6 separate regions of the Homo sapiens genome follow, and all the other regions are linked to region 1. The links are contacts of gene promoters, found by promoter capture Hi-C in blood cells and fetal thymus (Javierre and others, 2016). All regions are on one chromosome and are shown on one strand. The core of a region is centred on a gene start or on the middle of the fragment in contact, and the rest is flanking DNA. Distances in the headings are between cores, read along the strand shown.

Evidence for each region. Contacts are between HindIII fragments. The CHiCAGO score rates a contact against its expected background, and 5 or more counts as called.
Region 2: a fragment that was not itself captured here is called in contact with the fragment with the promoter of S100A13 in region 1 in 5 of 17 cell types (total B cells, naive B cells, neutrophils and 2 more); the score reaches 10.7 in total B cells.
Region 3: a fragment that was not itself captured here is called in contact with the fragment with the promoter of S100A13 in region 1 in 11 of 17 cell types (neutrophils, naive CD8 T cells, total B cells and 8 more); the score reaches 10.5 in neutrophils.
Region 4: a fragment that was not itself captured here is called in contact with the fragment with the promoter of S100A13 in region 1 in 2 of 17 cell types (fetal thymus and M2 macrophages); the score reaches 6.5 in fetal thymus.
Region 5: a fragment that was not itself captured here is called in contact with the fragment with the promoter of S100A13 in region 1 in 4 of 17 cell types (M2 macrophages, M1 macrophages, neutrophils and 1 more); the score reaches 6.2 in M2 macrophages.
Region 6: a fragment that was not itself captured here is called in contact with the fragment with the promoter of S100A13 in region 1 in 1 of 17 cell types (total B cells); the score reaches 5.7 in total B cells.

Annotation. Positions count from the first base shown.
Region 1 is chr1:153,626,048-153,629,010 of GRCh38, forward strand. S100A13 (S100 calcium binding protein A13) reads right to left here and starts at 1,458. Exons shown (of 3, transcript NM_001024211.2): 1 at 1,436-1,458; 2 at 273-486. The coding sequence starts at 425. S100A1 (S100 calcium binding protein A1) reads left to right here and starts at 2,387. Exons shown (of 3, transcript NM_006271.2): 1 at 2,387-2,449. RefSeq lists enhancers at 880-1,705, 2,532-2,963. The HindIII fragment of the contact is 11,281 bases long and covers 929-2,963 here.
Region 2 is chr1:154,000,849-154,003,811 of GRCh38, forward strand. NUP210L (nucleoporin 210 like) reads right to left here. Exons shown (of 40, transcript NM_207308.3): 36 at 887-1,137; 37 at 8-212. Among named protein-coding and RNA genes, the nearest start is that of RPS27, 12 kb to the left of the region's middle. The HindIII fragment of the contact is 1,365 bases long and covers 687-2,051 here.
Region 3 is chr1:153,941,039-153,944,001 of GRCh38, forward strand. It overlaps DENND4B (DENN domain containing 4B), which reads right to left. Exons shown (of 28, transcript NM_014856.3): 3 at 1,840-2,092; 4 at 1,518-1,587; 5 at 1,149-1,318; 6 at 831-1,075; 7 at 336-402; 8 at 193-251; 9 at 1-10. Among named protein-coding and RNA genes, the nearest start is that of DENND4B, 4.2 kb to the right of the region's middle. The HindIII fragment of the contact is 4,975 bases long and covers 1-2,963 here.
Region 4 is chr1:153,917,450-153,920,412 of GRCh38, forward strand. All of the region lies in intron 1 of GATAD2B (GATA zinc finger domain containing 2B), which reads right to left. Among named protein-coding and RNA genes, the nearest start is that of GATAD2B, 4.0 kb to the right of the region's middle. The HindIII fragment of the contact is 885 bases long and covers 1,141-2,025 here.
Region 5 is chr1:153,351,538-153,354,500 of GRCh38, forward strand. No RefSeq gene overlaps it. Among named protein-coding and RNA genes, the nearest start is that of PGLYRP4, 4.2 kb to the left of the region's middle. RefSeq lists silencers at 1,139-1,188, 2,214-2,263. The HindIII fragment of the contact is 417 bases long and covers 1,353-1,769 here.
Region 6 is chr1:153,887,912-153,890,874 of GRCh38, forward strand. The region is part of intron 1 of GATAD2B (GATA zinc finger domain containing 2B); the gene reads right to left. Among named protein-coding and RNA genes, the nearest start is that of GATAD2B, 34 kb to the right of the region's middle. The HindIII fragment of the contact is 908 bases long and covers 941-1,848 here.

The DNA.
Region 1 (2,963 bases), core at 208-2,707:
ATCCCAGCTACTCAGGAGGCTGAGGCAGGAGAATCACTTGAACCCCGGAGATGGAGGTTGCAGTGAGCCAAGATCACACCACTGCACTCCGGCCTGGGCAACAGAGTGAGACTTTGTCTCGAAAAAACAAAAGAAAACCTGCAACCATTGACACATGCAGCCACCCACACCCTTTCTTGTGGTCACCTCACCGTACTCGGCACCATCACGTCCTAAACACAGTGTCCCATAATCATCATCTCACAAAATCTCAGTCCCAGACTTCTGCCTACCTTGAGCAGATGGGGCAACTGCTGGGTAACCAGCTCTTTGAACTCGTTGACGCTGAGGCTATCCTTCCGGCCCTCCTGCCTTGCAAAGGTGAAGAAGGTGGTGACCACGGTCTCAATGGACTCCTCTAGCTCTGTCAGTGGTTCTGCTGCCATTAGGACCCTGAGGCCAAAGCTGATGTCCTCAAGGGGCTAGCTGACCTTTGTCAGGGCTGACCTGTGGAAGAGAGAAGGAGCAGAGAGGGAGAGTCAGGGAGCCCCAAGATGCAGGAATGGTTCAGAAGGTCCCTGCCTTGGTGTTATCACATCAGTCTCAGCCTGGAGGGGGCATATGGGGAAAGAGGGAGAGGACAGGGGTTGAGCTTGGGGCAGCAGACCAGGCAACGGCATCTCAGTTTTGGTGGGGGCAGGAGATTCAGCTCCAGAAACCCCCTCTTCTGTAGGTCTCACAATCCGGGATCCTTTTTAAATGTCTGTGGCTTAGGGACCCCTCTGTGGTGATCCCTCGATCTGGAGACCCCTCTACTTGAGAGGAGGTCTTCAGTTGAAGGTCCTTCTTGGAGTCCTTCAAGTCTGGTGGCCCCTCTGTGGCGTGTCTGTCTCAAGAATCCCTTCTTGTCTCACCCAGACTCACAGGTCATAAGGTTGTTTGTCTCCAAAGCTTGTTTATGTTGGGCCCTGGTCTCCGGCCACTCGCATCCGCCCACACACACTCTAACCGCTCCTCCCAGCAGAGAAGCACAGGGTCTGGCAAATGTCCCCTGTGGTCAGAGCTGGCTCCGTCTGAACAGACCCATTTTCTCTGCCCCGCTCCACCCTTACCTCTCCTCAGCGGCAGCAGGGCAGAGTGCTGAACCCAGGACCCCACAGATCCTCCCCGCTCCTGTCTCCCGGTGACAAGGGTCCTGGAACGGGGCGTCTCTGACTCCCTGCTCCAGGACGGGTTTAGTACAGGCACTCACAACCCCCTGGGGTGCGGCGGGTGGGGCTGGAAGAGGCATTCTCTTTTCTGTCCACCCCGTCACACACTCCTGCACGCGCTGTTGCTCGATCATCCAAAGCTCCTTCCTGAATTCCTGTCTGAGCTGGCTCTGGGGGAGGGACCTGGGAGCCCAGGAAGAAAAAATGATCTCCAGCCTCCCTCCAGGGTCAGCCATGAGACTCACCCGGCAAGGAGATGGGGTAGAGTGAGCTGGAGCCTCAGGGCTGAGGTTTATAAGCAGCGGGGAAGGAGGAGAGAGCTGCTTCCAAGCCCGGAGGTGTCAAATTTCCGTGGTCGATTCTGAAGACCAGAGACAGCCCAATCAGGCCGCTTGCCCTGAGCCCTCAGGTCTGGACCCGGGCTCCCTGCCAGCCACACGAGCGCCCCCACTTGGTCAGGGAGAGGAGCTGCCTGGACAGATCTCGTTCGGCAGGGGTCCCAGGGTCCTAGTCCTCTCAATACTGGGGGCTGCTGCCACCATACCCATGTCTAATCAGGAGTGTGTATGCTGAGGGGGGAAGAGGGAGGCAACCAATCAAGGGAGCTCAACACTGAGAGGCCCAATCTGAGACACACACAGAGGCCCCTTGGAATGAGATCCCACAAAGGATGCTACAGACCAAGATCCCTCAGAGAACCCCAGGCTGAGGCCCCACACACAGAGGGGGATCCAGGTTGAGACCCCCAGAGAAGAGTCCTGGATTGAAATCCCTCTGTGGGTTCTCAGACTCCCAAGACTAAGTTTCTCACTGAGGGTCCTCTCAGTGAGGCCCCATGGAGGAGCCACAGACTAAGACCCCCTCAGCAGAATTCCCCCCTTACCGGGCTCAACCAGCACAGCCAGCCACAGGTACTGCAAGGCCCAGCTTGGGGTAAGACATCCAGTGTCCCTCCCAGGACCTCCTTCCCACCTCTTTCCCCTGCACCATCCACTGCTGCCTGGAGAGAAAGGAACGGGGCAAGCAAGGCTGGGAAAGAGACAAGGGCCGCCTGTTCCAGCCCAGGAGACAGAGGGCGCCTCTGTCTGCTCCTGGCCCCTTGCCCCACAGGGTGTTCGTCTGTGAAGGGGTGGAGTCGGTGGGGGGGTCAGCGGGGGAGGGACTGTTGAAGACAGGTCTCCACACACAGCTCCAGCAGCCACATTTGCAACCTTGGCCATCTGTCCAGAACCTGCTCCCACCTCAGGCCCAGGCCAACCGTGAGTACCCTGCCCCACTGGGCTAGTCCCTGGCCTGCCAGCTTCAGGGAGAGGGGTCTTCAGAAGGGCTCCAAGAGGCTGGGGACCATAGCACTGTGGAGCACTGAGGATCTGGGAGGAGTCAGTCAGGGTGAGGGCAGTTTGGGATTTGGGGGAGACAGGGTTTGGAAGGTGGTGATGAGAGACAAATGAACTGAAGGTCGGAGAGAGAGCTGGCAGCTCAGCAAAGGAGGAAGCCAGTGGGGAACCCACCATGAGCTTCCTGACCGCCTGGCCCTCCCACAGGGAGCCCTCAAGTCCCTGCCAAGGCCCCCTCTGTCTCCCAGGTGTTGGGAAGGGTCCCAGCCCTCCCCTGCCTCGCCTCCTGTGGGGTAAGAAGAGAGCAGATACAACAGCTGTTTCTGCCCCCACCTCTCCTGCCAGCCTTAGTCTCTGCCACCCCCACCCTGCCTTGCCAAGAGCTCAGGTCCCGGGGGAGTCTGGGGGTGGCAGGGCAAAGCTCCCATGATATGGG
Region 2 (2,963 bases), core at 119-2,618, 370 kb after region 1:
TGCTTACCTGCACCCAACTTATCTTTCATAGCCCTCACTACCACTGCCTCACTTTGACTGGTGAGTACACAGGAAATATTGATGAAAACAGGTGATGCCATTTGCTGGAAGGAAGTGAAGTTGACCACTCTTACAGAGTAAATGGCCAGGCCAGGAGTGAGGGGAGAGTGGCTATGGCCAGCGACCACTAGAACTGGGGAGCTGGAGATGACCTTGGAGAAAAGATAAAACCTTTTATTTAAAAGAAGAAAAATCAACTTTGTATCAGTATGTTCCAATCTGAAACATATACAGTACAATAATTGTCAAGATCTGGATTTCTAGCTAGCTAGCCGACAATCAAATCATTTACTTTTTTGTTGTTGTTGAGAGGGAGTCTCGCTCTGTCACCCAGGCTGGAGTGCAGTGGCGCGATCTCAGCTCCCTGCAACCTCTGCCTCCCGGGTTCAAGCAATTTTCCTGCCTCAGCCTCCCGAGTAGCTGGGACTACAGGTGTCCGCCACCACGTCCAGCTAATTTTTGTACTTTTAGTAGAGAAGAGGTTTCACCATGTTGGCCAGGATGGTCTTGATCTGTTGACCTTGTGATCCACCCACTTTGGCCTCCCAAAGTGCTGGGATTACAGGCATGAGCCACCGCGCTCGGCCAATCATTTACTTTTTTTACTCCTTTAGGTATGTTGACAAAGCTTATGACCTAGATTTTGGACTCTGGGAGCCTGCCTGGCATTATGAAGGAGATGGGTTTTCTTCATTTGATTTTGTCATTTCCTATGGTAATTTTTATTAGGTCACTCAGTAACTTCTTTTGCCCTTGAAGTGAGAATGAAAACTATCTTTTCAAATTCCTGATCTCTTGTTCTGTTTTGGTTCAGTTCTTAACATACCTCTAGCTTCCTAAGAACTCTGTCCACTCCCAGTACTCTTATCTCCCCGATATCTTGTTTGTGGCTAAGAACCAATTCTGACTGGTTAATATAAAAGGCTGGGATGAAAGGAATGAGGATTCGTTGCATTCCATTCTTGCTACGTTCACTGACCAGTGTAGCCCACCCATAGACTGAGGTGTCAGCCACACTGAGGGCCTGTAGCAGCTCCTCTGACTGCGGTCGAACCTTGATTATGCAGACATAAACCCCTGGAAAAAAAAGAGGAAAAACTGAGCAGGAAGGTTCAGAGGCTCTATTGAGCCAACTGAATTAGGATAGGAAGGGAAAATTGTGACATGCAAATTCAGCAAAAGAGAAAATGTGAATTTAGTTTTGAGTATTCAATATCAGCACAATATTGGCCACTACGAGGAGGATGCCAAATAAAAAGAAAAATACTCCTAGAGAAACCACAACTAAACTTGTTTTCTGAGAATACCATTCTTTCTTTTTTTTGGAGACAGGGTCTCACTGTGTCGTGCAGGCTAGAGCACAGTGGCGTGATCATGGCATTCTGCAGCCCGACCTCCCAGGCTCTGGCGATCCTCCCACCTCAGCCTCCCGAGTAGCTGGGATTACAGGCATGAGCCACTGTGCCTGGCTAATTTTTGTATTTTTTAGCTGAGGTGGGTGGATCACAAGGTCAAGAGTTCGAGACCAGCCTGGCCAACATGGTGAAACCCCCATCTCTACTAAAAATACGAGGATTAGCCGGGTGTGATGGTGGGTACCTGTAATCCCAGCTACTTGGGAGACTGAGGCAGGGAAATTGCTTGAGATGGACGTTGCAGTGAGCTGAGATCACACCACTGCATTCCAGCTTGGGGACAGAGCAAGACTCCGTCTCAAAAAAAAAAATTATATTTTTTATAGAGAAGGGACTTCATTATGTTGCCCAGGCTGGTCTCAAACTCCTGGGCTCAAGCGATCCTCCTGCCTTGGCCTCCCAAAGTGCTGGGTTTACAGGCGTGAGAAACTGCTCCCTGGCTAAGAATACCATTCTTATTCAACATGTCAGGGAATATTAAATGATATAACACAAGCAGGGCAATTAAGAGCTGGGGATATAGAATGAAGTAGTCAGTGCTGGTGAACTCAGGAAAGGGTTTGTGAAAGACAGACAAGCTTTGAGCATCATTAATAACTTATGTATCAGACCACCTCTTGGTGTCATTATTTTTATCAATGGTAGGAACTGTTTTTCCAGTTACCCATGATTAATCCTTAGCTGTCTTTTTTTTTTTTTTTTAAAGAGACAGAATTTCACACTGTTGCCCAGGCTGGAGTGCAGTGGTGCAATTCTACCTCACTGCAGCCTTAAACTCCTGGGCTCAAGTAATCCTCCCACCTCAGCCTCCCAGGCAGCTAGGACTCCAGGCATGTGCCACCATGCCTGGCTAATTTTTAATTTTTATTTATTGCTATTATTATTATTTTATATATATTTTTGAGACAGAGTCTCGCCCTGTTGCCCAGGCTAGAGTGCAGTGGCGCAATCTCAGCTCACTGCAAGCTCTGCCTCCCAGGTTCACGCCATTCTCCTGCCTCAGCCTCCCAAGTAGCTGGGACTACAGGCGCCTGCCACCACATCCGGCTAATTTTTGTATTTTTAGTAGAGACGAGGTTTTACCTTGTTAGCCAGGATGGTCTCGATCTCCTGACCTCGTGATCCTCCCACCTCAGCCTCCCAAAGTGCTGGGATTACAGGCGTGAGCCACCATGCCTGGACTATTTATTATTTTTGTAGAGACAGAGTCTTGCTCTTGCCCAGGCCGGACTGCAGTGGCACAATCACAACTCACTGAAACCTTGAATTCTTGGGCTCAAGCAATCTTCCTGCCTCAGAGCTAGGGCTACAGGTGCGCGCCACCATGCCTGGCTATTTTATTTTTTGAGAGACAAGGTCTTGCTATGTTGCCCAGGCTGGTTTCAAACTCCTGGGCTCAAGTGATCCTCCCACTTCAGCCTCCTAAAACATTGGGATTATAGGCATGAGCCACTGCACCTGGCCTTAGTTGTCTTTACATCCTTTCCT
Region 3 (2,963 bases), core at 149-2,648, 310 kb after region 1:
GCTGGCACCACTGCAGGCAATGCCGAGGTGGGGAAAGGGTCACCAGGATACCCTGGGGACCCTTCCCCAGATGCCAGGCACAGCCACCACCTGGACCCAGCCTGCATAAACCTCAACAGCTGCACCCACCTGCCCAGCACCTACCATGTCCTTGGTCATTAAAGCTCCCCTCCCCACAATCTGATCACATACCTGAGGGGCAGGGGTGAGGATACAGGCTGACAGAGGAGCAAGTTGTCATAGGGAGACATCTGGAAGGGAAGAAGAGCCACGGCTCAGGGTAATGATGCCAACTCCCCTCCTTCCATCAGCCCGGCCCCAGCCTCAGCTCTCACCTGCACTAGGATGCGGGGTCTCTGTGGGGAAGGGAAGGGAACGTTGTGAATGAAGTGGGAGATGTGCCTGGGGGACAGAGAAACAGGTCAGAGCATACTCCCCCGTCCATCCCTGTCCTCCCTCCACATTTTCTCAGCTCTTTCACTTGTTCTCAAGAACCTTATTCCTTCCTGAACCCCACTTTGAGACCTGTTATCAGCCAACAGAACCTCCATTATGCATATAATTTGTGCAGATCAGAAAAGAAATCCTCCCTGGGCATACACAGCCCTTTGCCAGGACCTAACTAGTAAGTTTAGACTGGATTTCAGGCCCTGCTCCCCTCCTCAGCCCGTGGCGTTTTTACAGTGGATAAACTGTATAACCACACACTGCAGCCCTGTCCCTTACCCTGTGCCCAGCCCTCCCCCCACCCACATCTGAATCTCTCCCATCTCTCCTGGCCCCCTTATCCCTTCCTAACCCCTTCCCAATGGCAGAGGAGCCATGCTCACGCTTCCAAGGGTAGGCGGTGGGGGCCTGAGACGGAGTAGCGGTAAAGGAAGGTGAGGAAGGCGCGGAAGGCAGGGAAGGCAGGCCAGCGGGACAGCACAGCGATGGCACGCCGGCTGCGCACAGCTCTGCCCCCCAGTGCCCGACCCCGCTCCACGGCGCTCAGCAGGCCCAGTGCCCGTGCCTGTCGCTCTGATAGCCTGGCCCTTGGGAACGCCTCGTAGAACTGCAGGGCGGCACCATACACCTGGCAGGGGGCAGAAGGGTAGTCAGGCAGGCCCTGCATAGCCTGGACCCCTTGCCACACTCCACACACCCACCTTATCACCAGCTGCACCCGTGAGCACAAAGGTGGAGAAGACGGGCACGGGGTACTTGGTCTGGGCAGGCCAGCACTCGATAGTGGCCCCCATGGGCAGGCAGAAGACGGGCACTGACTCGGGCAGCGGGAACGCCTCATTGTCCTCCTCCGGGTAGCGGCCCAGCAGCTCTGCACCCCCAGCATAGTTGGGGGTACCCAAAAGGAGCAGGGTCCATCAGACTCCAAGGGAAATGAACCAAGGGATCCCAGAGAAGGCCCGAGTAGCAAAGAGAAAGTAAACTCTGGGGACACTTAAGGTGCCTGCCAAGAGGCACCAGGGCAAAGGGATGTAGGGTCACAGGATTGGAGGGATAAAGGGGCCACTCACCTGCCTCGTACACCAGCGTGTTGGCCTTCGCCAGGCCCACCTTATAGCACAGGTACACTGCTGGGCCCCACTACCCCAGAAATGGCAAGAGACAAGCAGATACATAGCTAACAAAGGTTTCTGGGGTCCACTTTCTCTCTACCACCCCTAAATGTTCTTTTGTCTTTAAAGCTCCCATTAATCCCAGTGCCCCAAGACCAGAGTTACCCCTCTGGACTCACCCCTGTGGTCAGAGCCTTGGTCCTGGGATGCCCTTTGTTCCCAGTGTCCACACCCACTCTTACACCAAGAGGACCAGGTGTCAGCTCTTGGCCCCACTCACCATGCCAGGGTTGAGGTTGCGGGGCAGCCGGCAGTAAGTATGAGGAGTGCCCTCGCCCTTACTGGGCAGCACCAGGCAGAGGTCAGTGATGCCCAGGGCATGCAGCCCTGCCCCCTCTGCTGCCCGCCGGTAAGTGAGGTAGGTGCGGGGGTGCCCGGGGCCTGGAGGGGCCAGGTTTGCTGAGTGGCTGTAGGGTGTCGTGTCAAGCACTTGGAAGCCAGGCTTGGGACGTTCCTTCCCCTCATACAACACCCTTGGCACAGAGAGCAAAGATAGATGTTGAGAGGTCAGGGTAGAGGACAAAGACCCAATCCTGCCAGATCTGCCTATCTAATCCCCTGAACTTGCCTTGTACCCACAGCCTTGTCAAACTCTAACACTAGGGCCCACCTCTTCTTGCTGAACTCTGCCCTCCAGAATCCTGTGCCCTTTCTTTGGCCTTTGGCCTTATTTCATGGTCAGCAACAATCCTGCATGCCTTCTATGGCTCTCATACTCATTAATAAACACTAAGGGTCAGCTGGGCACGGTGGCTCATGCCTATAATCCCAGCACTTTGGGAGGCCAAGGCAGGTGGATCACCTGAGGTCAGGGGTTCAGGACCAGCCTGGCCAACATGGTCAAACCCCATCTCTACTAAAAATTCAAAAATTAGCTGGACGTGGTGGCACATGCCTATAGTCTCAGCTACTCAGGAAGCTGAGGCAGGAGAATTGCCTGAACCCAGGAGGCGAAGGTTGCAGTGAGCCAAGATCACACCACTGCACTCCAGCCTGAGTGACAGAGAGAGACTCTGTCTATAAAAAAAAAAAAAAAAAAAAAAATAGTTATACAAGCTACCACTGACTGACTCTGTTAAGTCTGTCACATGGGTTATCTCATTTAATCTCGACCATCCTATGAGGATGAATTATTTTCCCCATTTGACAGATGAGGAAAACAGGCCCAGAGGAGCTCAAAAACCTGCCTAAGCTCTCAGAGCTAGCAAGGAGCAGCACTAGCACATGAAATCGCATCTGTAAGGACTAAGTACATACAACTTCAGTCCTTCCTTCCTGGCCCCTGGCCCACCAGGCTCCCATCCCCATTGCCCTTCCCTTGTTCCATAGTCCTACCTCTCCCTG
Region 4 (2,963 bases), core at 333-2,832, 290 kb after region 1:
AATGGTGCAATCTCGACTCACTGCAACCTCCACCTCCCAGGTTCAAGCTATTCTCCTGCCTCGGCCTCTCAAGTAGCTGGGATTACAGGTGCCCACTGCCACGCCCAGCTAATTTTTGTATTTTTAGTAGACACGGGGTTTCACCATGTTGGCTAGGCTGGTCTCGAACTCCTGACCTCATGTGATCCGCCCGCCTCAGCCTCCCAAAGTGCTGGGATTACAGGCATGAGCCACCAACCCCGGCCAACAAACATTTATTATTAACTACATGCCAGGCACTGTACTAGGCACTAAACAAATTACCAAAACAAATCCATGCCTTCTAAGACCTACATCATAGAAAGAGAACCAATAGGCAATAAATGTAACAAATAAATATATTATAAAAGTGTTAAGTCCTATGAAAAAGAAAATAGAGCAGGCAAGGATAAGCATGAGGGATGGGAACTGACAATACAATTTTAAAGAAAGGAAGGATAAGACTTCATTAAAAAGGTGACATTTAAGCAAAGACGTTAAGGAGGTGAGGCAATCAGCCATTCTCTGTGGGGAAACCTAGCTGTTTTCCCACTAGAAGGAATCACTTGGTCTTAGGAACCTGCCAAGGTTCTAAGATAGAGTGTGACTGATCAGCATTCAAGGAGCAAGTCAGTGTGGCTGGAATGGAGAGAGCAAGAGGGAAGATGACAGCCGATCAAAAATGGAAGAGGTTGGGGAGGGCAAACCATGTAAAGCCTTAAAGGCTATTGCAAGGACTGGCATTACTCTGTCTGCAAGAAATGAGAATTCAAAAATTAGTAGCATTACCCAAAATCAGTTAGCTAATAAATCACAAAGCTAGAATTCAACCCAGGACTTCAAGGCTCTCCACAACCTGTGTTCCACTAGTCCAATCTGCCACATATTAGTTCATCCCCTCTCTTTCAGCAAGTTTGAGTTTAAATACTCTAAAAATGCTAACATTATAAAAATCCTCTGGGCAAGAGATGCACAAGTCTTTCAGTTAACATTTGCAATCCTTCACAATTATAATGAGAATTTATTAATCCTGGTGTCTAATCTAAATCCTACTAACATTCCAGCATGTATTTTTAAAGATTATAAATTCCACCCTCCCTTGAAATGAGACAAGCCGAAGAAAGCTTTGATCAAAAGATTTAAAGTACGACTCTCAGCTTTAGGTAACAGTAACCTGAATTATTTTTTTAAATGGATACTAAGGCCGGGCACAATGGCTCCATGCCTGTAATCCCAGCACTTTGGGAGGCTGAGGTGGGCAGATCACCTGAGGTCAGGAGTTCGAGACCAGCCTGGCCAACATGGTGAAACCGTCTCTACTAAAAATACAAAAATTAGCCAGGCATGGTGACAGGTGACTGTAATCCCAGCTACTTGGGAGGTTGAGGCAGGAGAATCACTTGAACCCAGGAGGCAGAGGTTGCACTGAGCTGAGATCACACCACTGCACTCCAGCCTGGGCAACAAGAGCAAAACTCCATCTCAAAAAATATAAAATAAAATAAAATAAAATGGAACTAGCCAGGTGTGAAAAACAGTAAGAGAATGGCTCAGGAATATGGAATTGCTATAATTTCCCTTAATTTCTTTAGCAGTTTACTAGTTATTATTAATAACAAGTTCACACATTGTCAAAGATGCTTCTGCAGTTACTATGATTCTTTGAGGTCTGGATCTGACCACTTCATATCTCAAAAGTAACGAATGATGTGTTCTTAGTAATCTGCTGCTTTTTGTACTATAACCCAAAACTGTTGATAGTTTCTTGCCAGCTGATGGCAACCTAGGTAAATGGCAAAGGTAAGGGGGATTTTGTGAGAGACAGCAAACATTACCAAGCCACCATCTAAATACCTCAGACAGGTTAAAAGCCCTAATGACCCTGGGACACTCCCTTCTTACTGGATGAATTCAAGCTATACAGGAATATTTCATATATCCACAAGGGAGAAGGTAAAAGATGGAACATGAGGAGGGGTCTGTTTCAAATCAGACCTATTCTTCAGAAGCTTTCATCACTGCTACACAAAGAAAGGAGGTTGCTGCTTCAAGGATTCTGGAGCCACCAAAATCCCCAAACAGGACCTACAGAAAAAGCTTCACAGAGACTACTGAGGATAAACCAAATAATATGGCTAATAGAAGATACACCACAAAATCCAGTCATTGTAACATAAACTGAACTTCCTTATATATCTTTTCCTAGGCTTAGCCAAAAGCAGGAGAACTGCAACTCTATGTGGTATTGTCTGATAGACTGGATTTTTTCCCCAAGCAAGAGGTGGACAGCTTTATGCCAGGACTAGATTTACAGTCAATCTGGGTGTGTGTCTTTACTTTTTCTTTCCCTCCAAACTACCTCAGAAAATGTCTGGCTATTGTGCCTTGATATGTAATAATGCAGGGCTTTAAGTACTGCAAAGGTCTGGAAAAGAAAGTCCCTCAGTCCCAGTTATGGCTCAAATCTTACGATTTCTCTAGCAGTTGTTTTAATCAACCAAAGCTGGTTGGCTTTTCTCAATGAGCCAAGCAACATGAGCCTTCTAAGTTAAGCGCAGAGGGGCTGCTTGTCAGCATGACTCCCAATGGGGTGGCTAACATGGAATATGCTCCAGAGTCTAGAAATCAGGACAGCACAGCTGCTGTTTTCCTCCACATGCACCTCCAGCTTGGTGGGTGGGGGAGGAAAGGAAGAAGAATCAGTAAATTGAAACAGGAGGAATGCTTTACATGCAACACACAAGACTCACTGCTTAAAGGTGAGATGAATTCAGAGGTCTCAACACATGATTAGGATACCTTCACTGACACAATGGTCCCCAAAATTCAACCTGGAGGTCCAGCCTTGCCCGTCTGGCAAAAAAAGGGGAGAAGGGGGCAAAACCCCAAAATGGGGGACAGCATACAAGCTTTTGAAAGTACTTTAAGGTTGTGAGGCTCAGAAC
Region 5 (2,963 bases), core at 311-2,810, 270 kb before region 1:
TTTTGTTTTGTTTTGTTTGTTTTTGAGACGGAATCTATCTCTGTCGCCCAGGCTGGAATTCAGTGGCATGATCTCTGCTCGCTGCAACCTCTGCCTCCCGGGTTCAAGTGATTCTCCTGCCTCAGTGTCCCAAGTAGCTGAGACTACAGGCATGTGCTACCACACATGGCTAATTTTTTGTATTTTTAGTAGAGATGGTGTTTCATAGTGTTAGCCAGGATGGTCTCGATCTCCTGACCTCATGATCTGCCCGCCTCAGCCTCCCAAAGTGCTGGGATTACAGGCGTGAGCCACCACGCCCGGCCAAATGTGGTTTATTTATATGTGTGTGTGATATATATAAATATGTATATATAGAGAGTAATAAATGATGTCAGCATTTAGAAGACGTACATAACTCAGTCAACCAATATTTTCCAAATGATCAATATATGAAGTCACAAAGTTTGGATAAAAGATCCATTAAATTTTAAGAGGGACCAATTGATTCTAATGTAACAGAGAACAAATAATTCATTGATATGGTTTCAGACTTTACGTTGCAACTAACCTTTGAGAAACCATCACTTGTTGGGTTTTGATGTAATATGAGAGAAGAATATCCACAATTATATATTTAAAGGCTATTAATGTATTCATCCCCTTTGCAACTACTTATCTGTGGGAGATTGGATTTTCTTCAAATCTTCAACCAAAGCAACATACAGCAATACCTTGTATGCAGAAGTAGATGTGATAAACCAGCTGTCTTCTTTGAAGCCATACAGTAAAAAGGTCTGCAAAAATGTGAAAAAAAAACACTCTTCTCACTAGCTTTTGACATATATATATAATTATTTTTAATTGTTTAAAAACGTGGTAATACGTAATGTGTTTATTAATGGTACTTTAAGTGAGTTAATAAATCATTTTAAATTTTTTAAACTTTTAATGTAGTAAATACTGATACATCTAATCCACAAAAGCTCTTTGGGATACTCAATAACTTCTATGAATACATATAAAAGGGTCCAGAGAGCAAAAAGATTAAAAACCTGGGGCCAAAGGAATCCCACAGGCTGTCCTGATGCAGATAGGCCACAAGGTGGCAGCATGCGCCCTCTGATAACTCCGGAGTCACCTTTCACTCACTAGGAGTCTCTGAGCAACCTCTTTTATCCATCACTCCCTTCCACTTCCTTCCTTACCTTCATGCTTCTGTGTGGCACGTCTTTTTTTTTTCTAACTAGCTTTATCCACCAACGCCTTCATAATTACAGGGCATAGCCATCTCCTAAGCATAAGTTCTGGCCAAACCAAGCCAGTCATTCATTTTATTCTGCAAACATTTGTCAGGTGTCACTCATATGCAAAGCTTATCATCCAGGGATGAGTACATTGAGAACACTGCTCTCAAGTAGTTAATAATATAATGAGGGAGACAGATCCAAACGCCAGTGATTATAATGCCTGCTGAGTGTGAAAACCCTTTATTCTTTACAAAGGGCTGTGGACTTCAAAGGGAGTCCTGAGAGCAGAGGATGCCAAAAGCCAGATGCTGAGATACTCGCCAAAAATTTCTGCAGAGATCTGGAACCTAGGGACATAGTGAGCGCAAAAGCCAGGTTCCCAAGAGATCGGGGAGGAGAAAGGGTTGGAGCAACAGAAGCCAGGCAACAAAAGGGAATGCCAGCTTTCTCAATTTTGAAGGTGGCATGTCTGAGAAATTAGGAGGATGATGAGCAGAGGCAGCCAAGGTGGAGACAGGGGGAGAGGTCCAGACTTGGGGAAGCTTAGGTTGAATGTCTAAGAAGCCAGATCATTGGAGGGTCCTCACTGTGGATGCTGGAGCAGCCCAGCATGGGGGCAGGGAGTGCGGCTGCTCTCAGCAGAGGGCCTCAGAGACCTCAGGATGGCCAGTCAAGGGAGGCCACAAGGATGCCAGGGGTGGTCAAAGCTTGATGTGGACTGAGCCCAAACGTGGTAGAACAATGGTCTGAAGCTACCCGTGGATAGCTTCTGTAAGTCATCCTAATGCACTAGAGTCTAGAATGAGCACTGGGGAAATGGGGGATGTTAGGGCGCTTGTGGTTAGGAGACCCGTACCCAGAGATCTCCAAGGAAGAGCACTTGGGACTCCCAGCAAGGAGGAAGACAGGGAGTGGAGGAATAGGCAGCAGGCTGTGCGCAGCCTGAGTGGGGCTGGGCCTCAGGCATCAGAGTCCCTGTGAGGAGAGGGACCTGACTTCACCTGCAGGTGGAGCAAGTAAGCCAGGAGACAGTGTCCAGGGGCCATGAGGCTAGTAGTAGTCATGAAGCCCACCAAGAGTCCATCAAAACTTGGAATCTGTGCTAGAAATGACCTAAGGGTCAGCTGTCCCAATCTCCTCATGTAATGGATAAGAAAATGGAGGCCCGAACATGGAAATCACTTCTAAAGACCACCAGCAAGTCTGAGAAAGCTAAGGACTAAAACCAGCTCAGTCCCTCAGTCCGGGTCCCACTGTGTGCCTGCTGTAACACCCCCATTACAACACAGGAGGGGTAAAGCTCCCTGAAAGACCACAGTGGGAGCTGCAGAGAAGGGAAAGACAGACCCGCAGTGGGTCCCAGGCATCTGGGAAAGAGCACAGTGATTTGATGGTAGCTGCAGGAACCTCTGCCTGCTTGTTTGTTTACTTGCTTGGTTGTTTGTTTGTTTGAAATGGAGTCTCACCCTGCCACCCAGGCCAGAGTGCAATGGCGCGATCTTGGCTCACTGCAACCTCTGCCTCCCAGGTTCAAGCGGTTCTCCTACCTCAGCCTCCTGAGTAGCTGGGATTACAGGTGCGCACCACCACACCCGGCTAATTTTTTGTATCTTTAGTAAAGATGGAGGTTTCACCATGTTGGCCATGCTAGTCTCGAACTCCTGACCTTGTGATCCACCCGCCTCGTGCTCCCAAAGTGCTGGGATTACAGGCGTGAGCCACCGTGCCCGGCCA
Region 6 (2,963 bases), core at 145-2,644, 260 kb after region 1:
CCCTGTCTCTACTAAAAATACAAAAATTAGCCGGGCATGGTGGCAGGCACCTGTAATCCCAGCTAATCAGGAGGTTAAGGCAGGAGAATCACTTGAACCTGGGAGGCGGAGGTTGCAGTGAGCTGAGATCGCGCCACTGCACTCCAGCCTGGGCAACACAGTGAGGCTCTATCTCAAAAAAAAAAAAAAAATTACTGCCATACACTACTCAATGACTTAATCATCATACAGGAACAGAGAAAATAAACAGATCAACTTTTTCATTTATCATACAGCACAAGATGTGTCTAGGCCAATCTCTTCTGTAAGGGTGGTATACATTTTCCTAAGGCAACTGGGGGATTCCACTGCCTATCCTTGGAAAAAAAACCATGAAAATCATATGGAGCATTATATTAGTATTTAATACCTACAGAATAATTTCTGTCTTCCAAAAGACAAAGTATCTCTAGTAGTGTCTACAAGATAGTACCTAACTAGAATAGTCCTAAATCCCTAACTTATTCTCATCCTGTATCAGCAGCATGCTATTGATTCCCAGTGATGAGGTGTGCAAATACTTCATTTCTTAATACTTGATTGCTGATTATTTTCATTCACTCCGATCTGTACCTTCCCTCTATCTTTGCAGGGGGACCAAGTTCTTTTTAGGCAAGTCACAAATGTTCATACTTTTCTGACAACAAAAATTAAACTTGAACATCTAAATGTGCTAACAACTGTTATCAACTAAGTGCCACAGACGAAAGAGAAAGTAGTTTTAGTAGTCACGTTTATCTCTTTTGCCACAGAGTTTCTAAGCACTTGAGTTCTACTTTTTGGCCTGGCTTTTTGCTGTTACTAAGTATCTAAGTGTCTCTTCCTCTCTAGCGTTCCAAGAGTAGAAATCCCAGCTTATCAACAGTTTCACTTAGAGCTTCAGACATTTTACTCTACATTAAGCTTCTCATCTTTCACTTCTGTTGTGAAGGTTGCTCTTATCTTTATCCTCTGAAATCATAAACAATGCAAAAAAGAAAAAAATATATAGCTACCCTCTATATAGTGACGTTCTACTCAATCTCTGACTTAAGAGCCCCAAACCATGAGGAGTAATAATAGAAAACCTAAGACTAAAATGTAAGTTATCACAGCCATACAGTCAGTGACTTCCATAAATCTTTTAATTTGCCCTCCACTTTAATAATCACCTCACTGAATTGCTATGTTCAACAGGCTATACTAGAACTAGATCTAATTATTGAATAAAAATAGAATGTATCAGGCCGGGTGTGGTGGCTCACCTGAGGTCGGGAGTTCGAGACAAGCCTGACCAACATGGAAAAAACCTATCTCTACTAAAAATACAAAATTAGCAGGGCGTGGTGGCACATCCCTGTAATCCCAGCTACTCGGTGGGCTGAGGCAGGAGAATTGCTTGAACCCAGGAGGCGGACGTTCTGGTGAACCGAGATCGTGCCATTGCACTCCAGCCTGGGCAACAAGAGCGAAACCCCGTCTCCAAAAAAAAAAAAAAAAAAAAAAACACACAAAACAAAGAATGTACCATGTATATTTATAAATCACTCTGGGCAGGCAAGTTCAGAATTTACTTCACTCAAACTTGGTAGACTTGTGAGCCATCCAATTATCGGAATTTCAAGACAATCACACAATTAACCCCCCTCATAATTACACTAATGAGAAAGATGGAGACAACATAAAAGGAAACAGCTGGCAAGAGGAAAGTTGTAGATGCGTGAACGTCAAATTTAAAATACACTCACATGTTACTTATTTTCATATGTTCTCTGTATTTTCAACATTAAAATTAACTGTAAAGAATAGCAAAATGTTAGTAATTTTTGAAGCTTGTGGTGGGCACATGAAAGTTAATTACTTTGTACTCTATTTGGGTATGTAAGTTCTTCAGAATACAAAATAAAAAAAGTCACAGGAAATTTACAAACATCTACATTATCAATAGAAAGATAAGAGGCCAGTGGGGCGCGGTGGCTCACGCCTGTAATCTCAGCACTTTGGGAGGCCAAGGTGGGCAGATCACCTGAGGTCGGGAGTTGGAGACCAGCCTGACTAACATGGAGAAACTTGTCTTTACTAAAGATACAAAAAATTAGCCAGGCATGGGGGCATGCCTGCAATCCCAGCCACTCGGGAGGCTGAGACAGAAGAATCACTTAAACCCGGGAGGCAGAGGTTGCAGTGAGCCAAGATCGCGCCATTGCACTCCAGCCTGGGCAACAAGAGCGAAACTCTGTTTCAAAAAAAAAAAAAAGAAAAAAAAAGAAAGATAAGAGGCCTGGTGTGGTGGCTCACACCTGTAATCCCAACACTATGGGAGGCCGAGGCGAGTGATCACAAAGTCAAGAGATCAAGACCATCCTGGCTAACACAGTGAGACCCCGTCTCTCCTAAAAATACAAAAAATTAGCCGGACGTGGTGGCACGCACCTGTAGTCCCAGCTACTCAGGAGGCTGAGGCAGAAGAATCGCATAAACCCAGGAGGCAGAGGTTGCAGTGAGCCAAGATCACACCACTGCACTCCAGCCTAGGCGAAAGAACAAGACTCCGTCTCAAAAAAAAAAAAAAAAACGACAGAACAAGAAACAGGCTTTCTTGCTTCCCAGCCAGCCTGGCAGCTGCTCTTGGTTGGGGGCCATCCTGAACCTAAGACAGAAAGCTGGTGGCCGCAGAGGATGAAAAAGCGGCTGGAGTTGATCAACTCTAGGCTCCAACTTATTTAAAGTGAAATTGGTCATCCTCACCAACTGCCCATCTTTAAGGAAATCCAAAACAGAGTACTAAACACCATGTTGGCCAAAACTGGCATCCATCATTACAGTGACAATAACTGTAAGGCATGTAGAAAATACTACAGAGTTTGTACACTGGCTATCGTTAACCCAGGTGATTCTGCTATCATTAAACGCATGCCAGAACAGACTGGCAAAAAGTAAACCAT